Regions from separate parts of the Homo sapiens genome. Here regions 1, 2 and 3 are each linked to region 4. The links are contacts of gene promoters, found by promoter capture Hi-C in blood cells and fetal thymus (Javierre and others, 2016). All regions are on one chromosome and are shown on one strand. The core of a region is centred on a gene start or on the middle of the fragment in contact, and the rest is flanking DNA. Distances in the headings are between cores, read along the strand shown.

Region 1 (3,529 bases), core at 255-2,754, 480 kb after region 4:
GAACCTAATTATTTATCAGACACAAATTTTATCTGGTCTAGTAGCTTGTGTCTGTTTGTCATTTAAATGTAATTAGAAAGGGAGTGTGAATGTCTTCTATGGTGTGGATCTTAAAAAGTTAAGCAGACACTTGGGACACGTCTATTTTGGAAACTTTTGTTTATGAATTTCTGTCAACCCTTTTAAACTTTTTCATAATTGTGACCTGTTTTAAGGGTGCTGAGCTTATAACCTTCTACACAGAGTTGCCATTTCATTTTCCTGATGCCAGCTTTAGTTCATCTGATTTACTGTTCTGTGATCTGGCAGACTCTCTGCCGAGGCCCTGTCCTTAGTCTTTATGGTTTTGAAGATCACAGCCTGGTTCTCAGCTGGCTCTGATTCCACCAACAAAGGAGAGGCTCACCATTTGAGTCCAGCCACCTCTATGTTACTCACCTTTCTCTGGAACATTTAAGAACAGAAATGCTTGTGTTTTTTAAGTGTGAAATACGCTTCATATTCTTAATGTACATACAATGTGTTTTAGGTTAACAAGAGCTTAATGCCTTTCATGCTTATTTCATATTTTAAATTGTATTCGTTTCCTGAACCCTTCCTCATGGTGGCCAACATTGTGGCTAAAGTATAATATCAGTCTTTTAAGGAACAAAAATCTGTAAGCCCTAGACATTTCCCTCTTGACCTATAACTAACATCACAGAATCAATCTCCCTAAAAGAGTAGGGCAGATTATTTTTCTCCTGGTACTTGCTCAGAGGGTATCACTTGTCATTTTTCTGCTCTGCAGAGGATGTCTTTACCTTGATGCCCACTGAACAGCCACTTTGGAGCACCTGCTATGTGCCAGCATTGTGCAAGGTGCCAGGAATACAAAGATGCATAGAACATAATCTTTGACCTGAAAATATCCACAAATGAAAATACTAAAGTTTATCACGGAAAGTGCTATAGTAGAGGTGTGTGAGTGCACTATGGGAATAGAAAAGAGGGGAGACTAACTCTGCCTAAATAATCAGAGATCTCACCAAGGAGGTGGTCTTTGGTGTTGGCGATGATGCTTGAAGGATTATGAGGAAAAATTTCCCAAATGGGCAAGGCTGGCTGGTGGGCATGGAGCAAGGAAAGAAGCACTTCCAGCAGAGATGACAATGTGTGCAGAGAGCTGGCATGAGTGGGGTCTGAAAATAAAGGAAAATAAATAATACACTGTCATCACCTTAGATAATACCTTCATATTATCCACAATTGGAAAGTTTGACCATGTACATGTTCTGGTAGATCATTTAAACATGTCAAATAAGGATGACAGCCAAATAGCACCTGTAGGAGGCCTCCTGTGCATCAGTAGCTGTGTTAAGAGCTGCAAACAAAACAAAGTCCCTGCTTCCACAGAACTTGCATCCTAGTTGAAAGTGAGGGAGGGGAGAGAATGAAAATAACATGTTGAAACATGTCTTATTGTGATAAGCAGTAGGAAGACAACGGCCACCTAGAGACATAGTGATGGTGTCTGGGGAGGGGCTGTTTTCTGCAAGGGGACAGATGGCCCTCCGGCACCTGCTTGCATTTACACATTTACACACGATGGTGAACCACACCATGATTTCACTCTGGGGTTGTATTAAAAATTGGGGGAGTTGTATTTGGCATTTTTCTTCACTCTTTTTCTTGCCTTAACTGATGCTGTTCCCTCTACCTCTATTCGAAAATGTTCACATCTATTTCCCCTCCAAGGCCCAGCTCAAACTGCACTTCATTCCATAAAGCCTCCTCTGGTTTGTATACCTAGAAATCAGCTTTCTCAGCTTAGAACTTCCTTACACCTTACCCAAACCTCTTTTATGGCACTCACTACTTTCTGTCTTTGGATGTACATACCTGATTTATCCGTCTTGCTCTGTGTAGATAGCAGCTATAGTTATTTTATTCTAGACTTCCTTATATTTCTCAGTACAACAGTGTTGATTAATATAGCAAATGTTACTTTCTCCACTACTAATATAGCAAATATGCTTTTTGCACTATTCCTAGCCCTTTTTATATTGAGTACATCCAAATAGTTGCTTAATGAAAATATGCCACATCAACTTTAAAATTAAATCTTTAGTATCTAGTCTTAGTACTTATTCTAATGCAATACTTTGGATATGATGGCTTTAAATGATACTTAGAAATACAAACACAATAAATAATGGGGAATTCTCCAAAGAGCTTGCTTGCTTTATATCATAGGGTTATATGAGGCATTAAACAGGCTTTTTTAAATGTTTGATCAATCTGATCAGGATCTTTCCTTTGCTTCCATGATCACGATTCCTTCTACTGAGTCTTCTATCCTCTTTTCTGTTATTTTCTAAATTCCCCCCCCATTTTTGCTCATCTGTCTTGCTCTCCTCTCTTTGCCCTTGTCTCTCCTCTTCTTCTTCCTATCACTCTTCTCTCTTCCTCTTTTCCTTCTATCCTTCCTTTCTCTCACTTCCCACTTTCTCCTTTTCATTTTCCCCAGCTTTTCCTGTTTCCTTCCTTTCCTTTCCTTTCTTTCCTGTCTTTCCCCTCCTTCTGCCTGTAAGTTCCCTTCTTTCAACCCTGTCCACGGTGCTGAATATTAAACAAAGCATTTATGGATTTAGTCCATGGTGCTGGTTTATGGCACTGCTAAAACTCTGCAAACAAAATATAGTTGAGTATAAAAGATTGAGTTCCTATTATGTAGAAATAAACAACATTGACAAGAGTACATATTAGTTATTAAACATTTTGAGTGTTGTGTTGTTTGTTGTGTTGTATGATTTACGTATCCTTACCCCTAATTTGAATATGTTACATTGTTGTCAGAAATAATAGAAGCCAGAGAAGAATCTTTTATTAGCATAGGATATTGGATTTTCCATAATTTATTCTATCCAAGTTGGAAGATTTGGGTATTAGAAATCTATCTTTCCTTGGTAACATGTATATTTCCTACTGAAATAGGTCAAAATATTGCCATATGTATGATAGGTTTTATAAACTTTTTTTTTGTAATTGATTTGATTTTTTTTTTTTTGGTAATTATGTTTGCTACAGGAAAGTAAATGAGAGAGATGTGCCAAAAGCTACAATTAGTCGGTACAGTTCTGATGACACTTTGGACAGGTAAGGGGCTTTTGAACCATATAAATGGAATGCATAACATATTAAATACATTTTCTAATAAAGTTATGAAGTATTTAAAAGTTTACCAAAATAAGGTTTGAATCACTGATATTTTATTCCCAGGGATGGAGGGCTCTAAGAATTGAATTATCTTCTTCAGATCTCACTAAATCTTGGCTAGATGCATTTCCAAAATCTTTTTAATAGTAGATTGATATGAAATATTCTTAGAGACACTGATTTGAGTACAGCTAGGGTGGGTACTGTGCAGAATCTGTTAGTTCAATATAGGTTTTTTTTTTTTTTTTTGCGAATATGTATAATCCTTGTTCCAACATTTGGTTCTTCCACACTGATGGTGGAAAAACGTTAGTCCATGCAACTGCTTTAT
Region 2 (3,534 bases), core at 999-3,498, 390 kb after region 4:
TCTGTAAGTGAGACTATTAGCAAACTGAGGTCTCAGGGTTGGGTGATATATGTGGAAGGAGACTGTGAATCTTTTGGAGACCGTGAGCGATGTTAAATCAAAATTTTCACTGCCACGGCATTTCACCATTGTGAAATGTCATTTTCTTAGACAATTAGGTCTCCAAATTCTGCCAAAGGCCACTTAGTCTTTCCTTTCTCTTCTAGGAAGGAATGTGCCTAAATTTTCCCAGAATAATGGGTGTTTCCTTCAGAGAAATAGATTGCTCAACCTGGCTCAGTGGCAGCCAAATCCAGAGAATAACAAAATTTAGGGCAGAATTTTTTTTTCATATCATACCAAGAGTACTGTATAGAAATCCAAGGTACTGCATGATGGTCTGTGCTTAACTATGACAAAAAAAAAAAAAAAAAAAGGGACTCAGAGGTTGCTATTGCTTAGTTATAACGGTGACAAACCCCTTAAGACTTTGATCAGACACTCAGGTAGTAACTTGTGGCATAACTATGGAGCATCGCCTGGGAAAGAATGGGAAACTACTTCCCTGACCAGTCTTTTAGCTTGTTTCCAGTTTAGGAGACTATAATGCAAACTGTCTATGCAAAACCAGGAATAACCTAGCTCTTTTAAGAGAGATCTGAGGCTGAGGGAATGAAATACTTAAATGATTAGATAATTAATGATTAAATGCTGCTGGATCCAAGATTGGTGCTTTCTACTATTTCCTCTTTGTTCCTGGGCAGGACCTGAAGGTCCCTTGCAAAACCTCCAGATTGCCTTAAAGAATCTCTCCAAGCCTTGCTACCTACCTGCATTCTATACCTCCTTCTCCTTCTTCTCATGTCCCTGCCTCTTTCTCCCCCATTCCTTTATACCTGGGTTGTTTCTTCCTACTCAGCCCTTTAGTTAGTTGTCTTATTAAGTTGTATTTTTTTCTGGGTCTCTACTCGTTTGTTAAGAGCAGTTGATCACCCTCAGTAGTGACTGACTAGAGGAACACTCTCCATGTTGGTTTCTGGCACAGAGTTTGTGCTCACTGAATGTGTTTCAAATTGAATATTCACAGTATCTCCGCCACAGCTATCTCTCTTTAGTCTGGCATTTCGTGGACGAGTGATGAGGAGAAACCAGCAGGTTTCTACATTCACACAAATTCTCAGCCACTTGGTTTTTCCCTTCCAGCTTGAATCATGAAGAGCTTCAGAATAACATTGGTTTTCTCAGACTGGTGTATTAGCTGGGACAGACCAACTACTATCACATAGAATTTCAAAATTTCAAAGTTTAAAATTGGAATTAAAACTCCAAAATAAAACTTAATTTGTCACGTGTTTTGCAGGCCTAGCCTAGTTGGCTGACCAGTGGACAGCTTTCCTCCAGGCAGCAATTCAGCCTCTAGATCCTTAGACTTCTCCATTCATTGGGTGCAAAGGGAAATAAGAGAGAAAGAATTGTGGGCAGGAGGACGTCATAGACCAGGCCTGGAGGTTGGACCCATCACTTCTATTTAGGTTCCATTGACCAATACCCAGTCACAGGCCACATCCAACTGGAAAGACAACTATGATATATTGCCCACCAGTATACTTGGAAGAAAGGCAAAGTGGTTTGGTGAACCACTAACTGGTTGCTGGCACAGATGTCGTGGATGAATATCTGTTTTTAGTAATCAAATGATTGCTAAAATGTTAAGAAAAAACATGGTAGCCTTAAAGAGTATATAGAAAGTCCTCAGCGATTCTTACAGTTGGGAAACCATTACATTTTGATATATTGAGTTATGGAAATGAAGTTGAATATATAAAAGTATATTAAAGCTTAAAATATACATGGTTGATATACCAGAATTATGTCTGCCAATATGTTAAATGTTTTCCATGACAAAGGAATTTATGGTATTACAGCATATATTGAAGACAGTTCAGTTACATTTTTGCCATTTTTGCAGGATGTTTGACCCCTTCCTATTTCTCTTTTCATCTTTCAAAAGAAGAAAAGCTGCTTTATTTTATACGCTTACATGTATAATCACGAAAAAACAAATGCAGAAATGAAGGAGAAAGGAGGAAGCAATAAAGGAAGAAGGAAAAGAAGGAAAGAAGAAAAGAACAAAGGAAAAAACACACTAAAGACAGCACCATCATACTTATTTTTGTAACCATTTTGGTGTTATTTTGTAGTAATTGATTGCATTAAATTTTGAGGGTTTTTTTTTGCCCCAACTGTGAAGAAATAAACAAGCAGAATTGCATTTCATTGTTCGTTTTGGCATTGAGTTTAATTGTTTTCCTTTTCTTTTAGTTATATTAGCTCATCCCTCCATTCATCAGCACTCACTGCAGGCAGGATTCACTCCCAGTACAGGAGTACTATGGGTTTCTGGTGAAATGCACATTAAAAATAATCAAAGTGCAAGCAGTTTCACAAACACTGTAACATGGAGGAGTTTCCGAAGAACGGCAGAGCCTGGAAAGAATAAGTAGGAACATAGCTACAAACCAGACAAGAGATCAAAGAAATCAACTTCTTCCTAAAACAACCAACTTTACAAAATTATCATCATGGGAGCTGCATGGACAATTCAAATGGCATTATTGAGGGTGAAGATGGAGAGACAGAAAGGGCTCAGAATGGAACGACAAATGGCCTGCATTAGCAGTCTGCCTATATTCAAGAAACTAAGCTTAATGTTTTTCCACCTAGTCCGTCTGTCCGTCCGTCCTTCCTTCCCCCACTTCCTTCCTTTTGTATATAGCATCTTCAATGTGAGAGATGCCTTGTTGAGGAATATCAGTTAACATTGTCCAGTGGTGTTCAAGAACCTCAAGGCTGACTGTCATTGGCAAAGAGGCTGAACAGCTGGCACATCAGGCAGGGGTAGGTTGTGTCAGCACAGACACTATGAATGAGTGGAAGCCCTGGGTTTTGCCTCTGGATCATGGATTGGAGTGTATTATAATCAAGGTGCTCAGGTAAGAGTGTTGGGTGACCCCCATCTGTTGCTTACCTTCCGCATTGCAATCTCATTCATTCAGTCCACTTTTATTCAGTTACTGTTGAGCAAGATAGTCCTGGTCAATTGAAAAATGTGTGAGGCATGCCTATGACCTGCAGTGAATCCATGAGTCGGTAACAACTTCAATTCTTGCCTCCTTAGAAGAAAGAATTCCACTGAGAGGCATAAGGCAAAAGGAGCAACTAAGTTTTTTTTTTTTTTTTTTTTTTGAGACGGAGTCTCCCTCTATCGCCGGGGCTGGAGTGCAGCAGCGCGATCTCGGCTCACTGCAACTTCCACTTCCCGGGTTCAAGCGATTCCCTTGCCTCAGTCTCCTGCATAGCTGGGACTACAGGCGTGTGCCACCACGCCCAGTTAATTTTTTGTATTTTTAGTAAAGTTGGCGTTTCACCATGTTAGCCAGGATGGTCTCGAACTCCTGACCTCATGATCCACCCGCCTCAGCCTCCCAAAGTGCTGGTGTGTCCGGAATTGGTGGGTTCTTGGTCTCACTGACTTCAAGAATGAAGCCGTGGACC
Region 3 (3,496 bases), core at 673-3,172, 430 kb after region 4:
TGAGGTGGCCTTCTGGTGCAGCATTACTCAGCGTGTTTGGAGAGCAGATGCACGACCCCACACATTATGTAACCAGGCCATGTGAGGCACATTAGATGATCACCCACATGAGCTCGTGCTTGGCTTGGAGCCACTATTGTCTGTAAAAGGTATAATTACCCTGCTAACATTGTACATATGGCTTGCTGGTGCCCACAGAATAGAGCCATGTTGAAATTGTTTACGATTCCTCAAGTGTTTTTCCAGCTACCTGCCACTTGCCCACTGACTCCCCTTGCACCTCAGTTAGAACCTGACACATGGTGAAACCCCGTTTCTACTAAAAAAATACAAAAACTTGCCGGGTGTGGTGGTGCATGCCTGTAGTCTCAGCTACCCAGGAGGCTGAGGCAGGAGAATCACTTGAACCCGGGAGGCAGAGGTTACAGTGAGCCGAGATCGCGCCACTGCCCTCCAGCCTGGCCTACAAGAGCGAGACTCTGTCTCAAAAACAAAAAAGAAAAGGGAAAAAAAAATTCTACTTTGTGTTCTTCACACAAAACATTGTCAAACAATAATATGGAAAACTTCTTTAATGCAATGTAGAATAATTACAGAACATTCAGATTCTAAAATTAAATCAATTAATTCTTTGTGAGGAAAGCTAAGGGCACTAGTAAAATTGTAAGCTTAACATTTAAACTCAATTATCAGGGTTGGCTTGGAGAGCCTCATACACATTAGCATTGCTCACTAGTTTCACTATTTTCCTAGTGAAAAAATAGAAAATTTTACATAAATATGGAAAATGTTATAATACTTAGTACACTGTTGATAAAAAAAGATCTTACATGTCAATTGCAATTTTACATTGCAATTAAATACATTCCTTATTCTGACATTATTGTAGTTTAAATAATGAATGAAATAGATAATAATAGTGATTATGATAAAAAGATATTTTCATTCATAACCACAGTTCACTCATCAACTTCAGTAAGTTTAACTTTGATAAAGTAATTTTATCCAAGCTATTGCCCTTATGCAATTGCCCCAACAATGACCTTTGTAGCATTTTCCATTGCAATTGAGGATCTAATCTATGGTCAGACATTACATTAATTTGTCATGTATCTTTAATCACCTTTAATCTAGAATATTTCATAGCCTTTACTTGTCTTTTGTGCCAGTAACATTTTTGAAGACTATACTCTTCTCCTCTTTTAAATAGAATATTCCTCATTGGTCTGCTGGTTTTTCATGAGGGAGTCAAGTTATACATTTTCAACCGAATACTTCACAGGTGATGTTGTGCCCTTCTCAGGGGAGGCATGCCAAGGCCATCTGTTCATCACCAGTGATGTTAATTTTAAGCACCTGGTGAAGGTATTGCTGAGCTTCTCCTTTGTATCATTACTTTTTGAAAAAAACGTTGAAGCGAATTAGCAATTTGTGGTAACACTGTTTAAGTTCATGGCAAGTTTCTGGTCTTCAACAAAATATCCCCCTAGATTTAGTATCCATTGATGATTCTTGCTTTATCCAGTCTTTACCATGATGTTGCAAAATGGTGATTTTCCAGCTTCAGCATCACCTCCGCATTTACCAGCCAGCACTCAGCATTCTACATTAAGCAAGAGACCTTCCTTTTCCTCACCTATTTATTTATTAATTATTGGTATCACTAGTTCGTATTTTTTCAATGGTTTATAATGCATTACTTAATATTTTGGTGTTCAAATTGTCCCTGACCTGGTCATTAGGGGTTTCTTCAAGTTGATTCCTTGGCTTTGTTGCAAGCCCCACACTTTTTTTAAAGCATTTCCGCACTTTTAGACATAGTATGTTCCAGACTCATCTTGCATCATCTGGCTCTAGAATCTATCTCACTGTGGGTAATTAGTGAATACCACATTGTATCTTTGAATTCCCAGCATAATTGATAGTGCAAATCTTTGCACAGATTATTTTAATATTAATTTTAAGGTATTTTAGCAGTTCAGCATGTTTACATGGAGTGGAGCCTTGATTCTTTTTAGTGGAGAATAGTGATAGAGGCCAAATTCTAGGCATTAGATGTGCTTCTGGTTACTGGTGTGTGTGTATTAGGGTCCACCAGAGGGACAGAACAAATAGGATATATGTATATATGAAAGGGAGTTTATTAGGAATAATTGGCTCACATAATTACAAAGTGAAGTCCCATGATAGGCCACCTGCAAAATGGGGAAGAGAGAAGCCAGTAGTGACTCAATCAGAGTCGAAAGCCTCAAAACCAGTGAAGCTGACAGTGCAGCCTTCAGTCTGTGGCAGAAGGCCTGAGAGCCCCCAGGAAGCCACTGGTGCAAGTTCCAGAGTCCAAAGGATGAAGACCCTGGAGTCTGGTGTCCAAGGGCAGAAGGAGCAGAAGCAAGCATCCAAGACAAGAAGAGGAAGGAAGCCAGGAAAACTCAGCAAGCAAAGTTATCCCACCTTCTTCCTCCTGCTTTTGTTCTAATCACACCGGCAGCTGATTGGATGGTGCCCACCCACATTGAGGGTGGGTCTTCCTCTCCTAGTCCACTGACTCAAATATCAGTCTCCTCTGGCAACACCCTCACAGATACAGCCACAAACAATACTTTACCAGCTATCTGGGCATCCTTCAATCCAATCAAGTTGACACCTAATATTAATTGTCACATGGGATATCTTTACTTCTTGACCCTTTCAGTGGACAGAGCTAGGAAATGTGAGTGTGTATACACATGCATACAGACACAGACATATATACACACAAACATAGAGGTATATGTGTATACAGGTGGGCATACACATACATAAACACATACAACATATTTTAGACATTATGAGTTCAGATCTATACTTTCAGTTTCAATCCACTCCCATGGGCTTCTTTCTTGCCATCCTCACTGTATAGTTTACAACCTACCTTCCTCTGTGAGAACTCTCGCTCTCAGCAACACAAATGCATTAACTCATTGTGCAATCCTATAATACATCTAAATCAGGGACATCCAATGTTTTGGCTTCCCTGGGCCACATTGGAAGAAGAAGAATGTCTTGGGCCACACATAAAATACACTAATGATAGCTGATGAGCTAAAAAAACTTGCCAAAAAATTTCATGATGTTTTTAAGAAAGTTTACAAATTTGCATTGGGCCTCATTCAAAGCTGTTCCAGGCTGCAGGTTGAACAAGCTTGATCTAAATTGTTTCAGAATCACTTTACTCATACCACTACAATAAGTAAATCTATTAAAAATACTTCTGGATTTATTTGCAGTTCTCCATTCCCACTCCTTGCATACTCCATAAATATTATTTTAATGAAAGAACAAGTTTCGAAATCACCAGCATGGGACTTCCATCTACTGTTGGCCAAGACTATACATTTAGCATGAGAATGGGAATAGTCTTTACTCCAAAATTCATTGTTTCTTGTATTTGACACATTCATATTGAAAAGTGCAAATCCTAAATGACTTGTGTGTATACCAAGAGTATTTCTTTTAA
Region 4 (3,439 bases), core at 433-2,932:
TTGGAGAGCTGCATAATATGAGTGCTGTAGGCTGATACAACTCAAATCAACAAATGCTGTGTACAAGGCTCTGTGGTAGGCAGGTTGAGGAACATGGAGGTACATAACTCAAGGAAAACATACATACAGGTTGAGTATCCTTTATTAGAAATATTTGGGACTAGAAGTGTTTTGGATTAGGGATTTTTTAGGATTTTGAAATACTCTATTTGCATTATCCTTACTGGCTGGGCACCCCAAATCTGAATATCTAAAACCAGAAATGCTCCAATATGCATTTCCTTTAAGTGTCATATCTGTGTTCAAAAAGTTTCAGATTCTGTAGCATTTTGGATTTTCAGATTTGGAATGCTCAACCTATAACATAGAGGAAGCCTGTTAAAAGGAAAGTAGATGTCAGCTTACATGTTGGGAATTTTGAAAATGAATACTGTTATGATTATTTCCTCTTAGAAAAGACAGAAGTGTTAAATTGATTGCAATCATTGTTCTGAGGGAGAGTATGTCCTTGCTTAAAATGTACCATGAGCCAAAGATAGCTTTGCACTGAACAGTGAGTTCTAGCTACAAAAATGTTTTGCTTTGTTACACTTGACTTTCCAGTAAGATAAAGTAGTTACACCAGTGGAAATTCTTAGGTCTGAGGAGGAAATAGCTCATATTATATTAGCTAAGCCTCTTTTACTTACTCAATACCAGGGAGGAATAGAACCTGCACTGATGTACAGGAGTTGGAGGTTGCTCTGATTGCAGACTGGCCTGCATCCAGGTTATCTGAGACCCAATCCTACCACTGTGGCTCTTCCTGAGAAAGGAAATATGCAAATGGCACAGGAGAAGCCAGGCAATGGTTCAAGGAGAGCCATTAATACTGTATCTGCTAGCAAGCCACATCCATTCTGAGGAAAAAAATTCTAAATGAGGTAGAAGAAAGGCAGTCTGGCAGTTAGTGCTATTTCTTTCTTGGTTGTTAATACTCAAGCAAATAGGACTCTTTTTTCTTGTTTAGTGCCTTTTATAAAAGAATATTTAATTCAGTTGAAACACATGGATGAACTAGGCTGAAGAGAATATAAATTATGATTATTTGGGACAGTCTGAAACTTATTTTTTATTTCATGAGGACTGTGGCAAAGTAGACACTTGAAGATAGGCTGGGTGCAGTGGCTCATGTCTGTAATCCTAGCACTTTGGGAGGCTGAGGTGGGCAGATCACTTGAGGCCAGGGGTTTGAGACCGGCCTGGACAACATGGTGAAACCCTGTCTCTACTAAAAATACAAAAATTAGCCAAGCATGGTGGCGTGTGCTTGTAATCCCAGCTACTCAGGAGGTTGAAGCAGGAGAATCGTTTGAACCTGGAGGCGAAGGTTGCAGTGAGCCAAGATTGTGCCACTGCACTCCAGCCTGGGTGACAGAGGGAGACTCCATCTCAGAAAAAAAAAAAAAAGCTGATTACACTATAGGTCAAAGATTATTATTAAGTGCCACCAGAGTAATACAAAAAGAATCAGCAGAGGGAAAGAGTAATTTTTTAGAGGAGTTACTTAGAATTTCTCTGCTGAGTTTGAGAGACCCTGGAAGAATTGATCAGCAGAGTTTAAGGGGAGGACTTCCAGGTCACGGGAAAATCTTAACCAAGGGAATGGCAGCAGAAAATTGTAGAGCAGACTTTCATTTTGCTTAGCTGTAGCCATGGTATATTTGTAATCAGACCTCTTTTCAGAAATGGAATTCCACAGTGCTCCCAATCATATTAATTTGTTTTTAGACTTAAGATTTATTTGGGGATTATAGCAATGATGTTTGGTTGGTGAAATTCCAGGTGATAAAGCTTGTTGCTAAATTCAGAAATGAAAGTGCATGAATACTAAGATCTGAAAAGAGCTAAAGAGCCGTAAATCACGTTTGCTTTCTTACCCCAAGATCTCGGGAATTGTCCACGTGAACAGACACATAGCGGGCATTGATTCCTTTTACACAGTTGATGGTGATGTTCTTAGTTTTGTTTTTATCTTCATCTCCTGATTCCCAAAAGGTTTCTGTGGAGCCGTCTGTCAAACTGCCAATCATGGCAGGTCGGCTTGAAGTTTTTATGTCAACAATGCTGGTTAAGTCCTTTAAGCACATTACTATGCATAATTCCTATCAGAAACAAATATAAGTACTTATGATACTTAAAAGCAAATCTTTCGTGATGATAAAACAAACAGGTATAAGATAAAACATAATGGAAGACAGGATCAAATTGATTATGAATAACTTACAGTTTCTCCTTTGATGTATTATTAACTAACAGGACAACCAGGATAATAACTGAAATGACTGACCTGACTCATAGCTTCAAAGCCAGACTGTATACTGATGCTAAAACTCTCTTCACTATCGCCATCATCTGACTTTGACAAAATATTGTTAATGTGATGAAAGACGTTGCTCTGATGAAGGAACTGGTGATCAGATTGCTTGAATTTGAGACTCCAGCACCTAAAAAGGCGATATATAAGCAATATACGAAATAATTATTTTCCAGGAACATCTAAGGAACTCTTAGATGAGTACTCTGTAGCTAATATCTCAAGAAATTTTAATGTTCTAGTAACAGACATTTTAAAAATTCAGGGAAGAAAATCATTCCTATTGTTTTTGTTTTTGAGAAATAAAGGTAACTTCTTTGGAACAAGGTAAATTCTAAGGAAAGTTGACCCATTTTAAATATAAAAGAATTAGACAGATGAAGATCAAGGCTACAGAAGCAAAAAGGGTAATGAATCTATTGTGTAAACAAGTGGTACACCAACTGCAACAACCCCTCAAATTTATTACTCTTACAATGCCATACTAATTCATCAGGGTATAGTTTATCTTGTAGTTCAAAAATCTTGTGAGGAGGACAAAGAGAAATCTCTCTTCCACTGGTCTTATCATTAGTAACATGGGAAGCCCAAGCATTCCATCAATCTATTTCTTGTATACATTAATTAGGAGAATTTATTTATAAGTGTGAGTCCAGTATGTGAATCTAGTAACAAGGTTCACAGTGTAAAAGCAATGCTAAATTCTCAACACATTTCAAATTGAAATTGGAATCTGTTGAGCATCTGTGATGCTCCTTAAGGTGCTTTTAGGACTGGGTGCATACAACCAGGCTCTGTTTTCCCCAAGATTCTTTTCAAGTCAAAACTCTATTTTGGTTTTTGTTTTTGAGATTTCATTTTCCCTCTCTCTTTTTGGGACATTTAAGTGATTTGAGGTAGGAGACTGGGGAAAGTGAGGGAGATTGCTACAGTGATAATTTAGGGCACTAAGAATTACATTAGCCACATTTTACAGGAGGGCAAACAAATGTTAACTAAGAGGAAGGACCATTCTAAAAATTATGACTGTAAGGAGGGAGGCACCATCTATATAATGTAGGGATTCTATCTTACTATTTAAAG

Evidence for each region. The method cuts DNA at HindIII sites, captures the fragments that hold promoters and counts their contacts. A CHiCAGO score of 5 or more calls a contact.
Region 1: a contact is called between a fragment that was not itself captured here and the fragment with the promoter of MYCBP2-AS2 in region 4, in 1 of 17 cell types (M2 macrophages). The highest score is 7.1, in M2 macrophages.
Region 2: a fragment that was not itself captured here is called in contact with the fragment with the promoter of MYCBP2-AS2 in region 4 in 2 of 17 cell types (naive B cells and total CD4 T cells); the score reaches 5.3 in naive B cells.
Region 3: a contact is called between a fragment that was not itself captured here and the fragment with the promoter of MYCBP2-AS2 in region 4, in 1 of 17 cell types (M2 macrophages). The highest score is 6.4, in M2 macrophages.

The regions. Positions count from the first base shown.
Region 1 is chr13:77,560,762-77,564,290 of GRCh38, forward strand. It overlaps SCEL (sciellin), which reads left to right. Exons shown (of 33, transcript NM_144777.3): 5 at 3,070-3,138. Among named protein-coding and RNA genes, the nearest start is that of SCEL, 27 kb to the left of the region's middle. The HindIII fragment of the contact is 5,677 bases long and covers 1-3,529 here.
Region 2 is chr13:77,471,001-77,474,534 of GRCh38, forward strand. No RefSeq gene overlaps it. Among named protein-coding and RNA genes, the nearest start is that of SCEL, 63 kb to the right of the region's middle. The HindIII fragment of the contact is 866 bases long and covers 1,816-2,681 here.
Region 3 is chr13:77,511,662-77,515,157 of GRCh38, forward strand. No RefSeq gene overlaps it. Among named protein-coding and RNA genes, the nearest start is that of SCEL, 22 kb to the right of the region's middle. The HindIII fragment of the contact is 2,513 bases long and covers 667-3,179 here.
Region 4 is chr13:77,079,508-77,082,946 of GRCh38, forward strand. It overlaps MYCBP2-AS2 (MYCBP2 antisense RNA 2), which reads right to left and starts at 1,683. Exons shown (of 2, transcript NR_170173.1): 1 at 1,407-1,683; 2 at 1,004-1,154. It overlaps MYCBP2 (MYC binding protein 2), which reads right to left. Exons shown (of 83, transcript NM_015057.5): 64 at 2,330-2,486; 65 at 1,920-2,144. All of the region lies in intron 2 of MYCBP2-AS1 (MYCBP2 antisense RNA 1), which reads left to right. The HindIII fragment of the contact is 5,615 bases long and covers 1-1,831 here.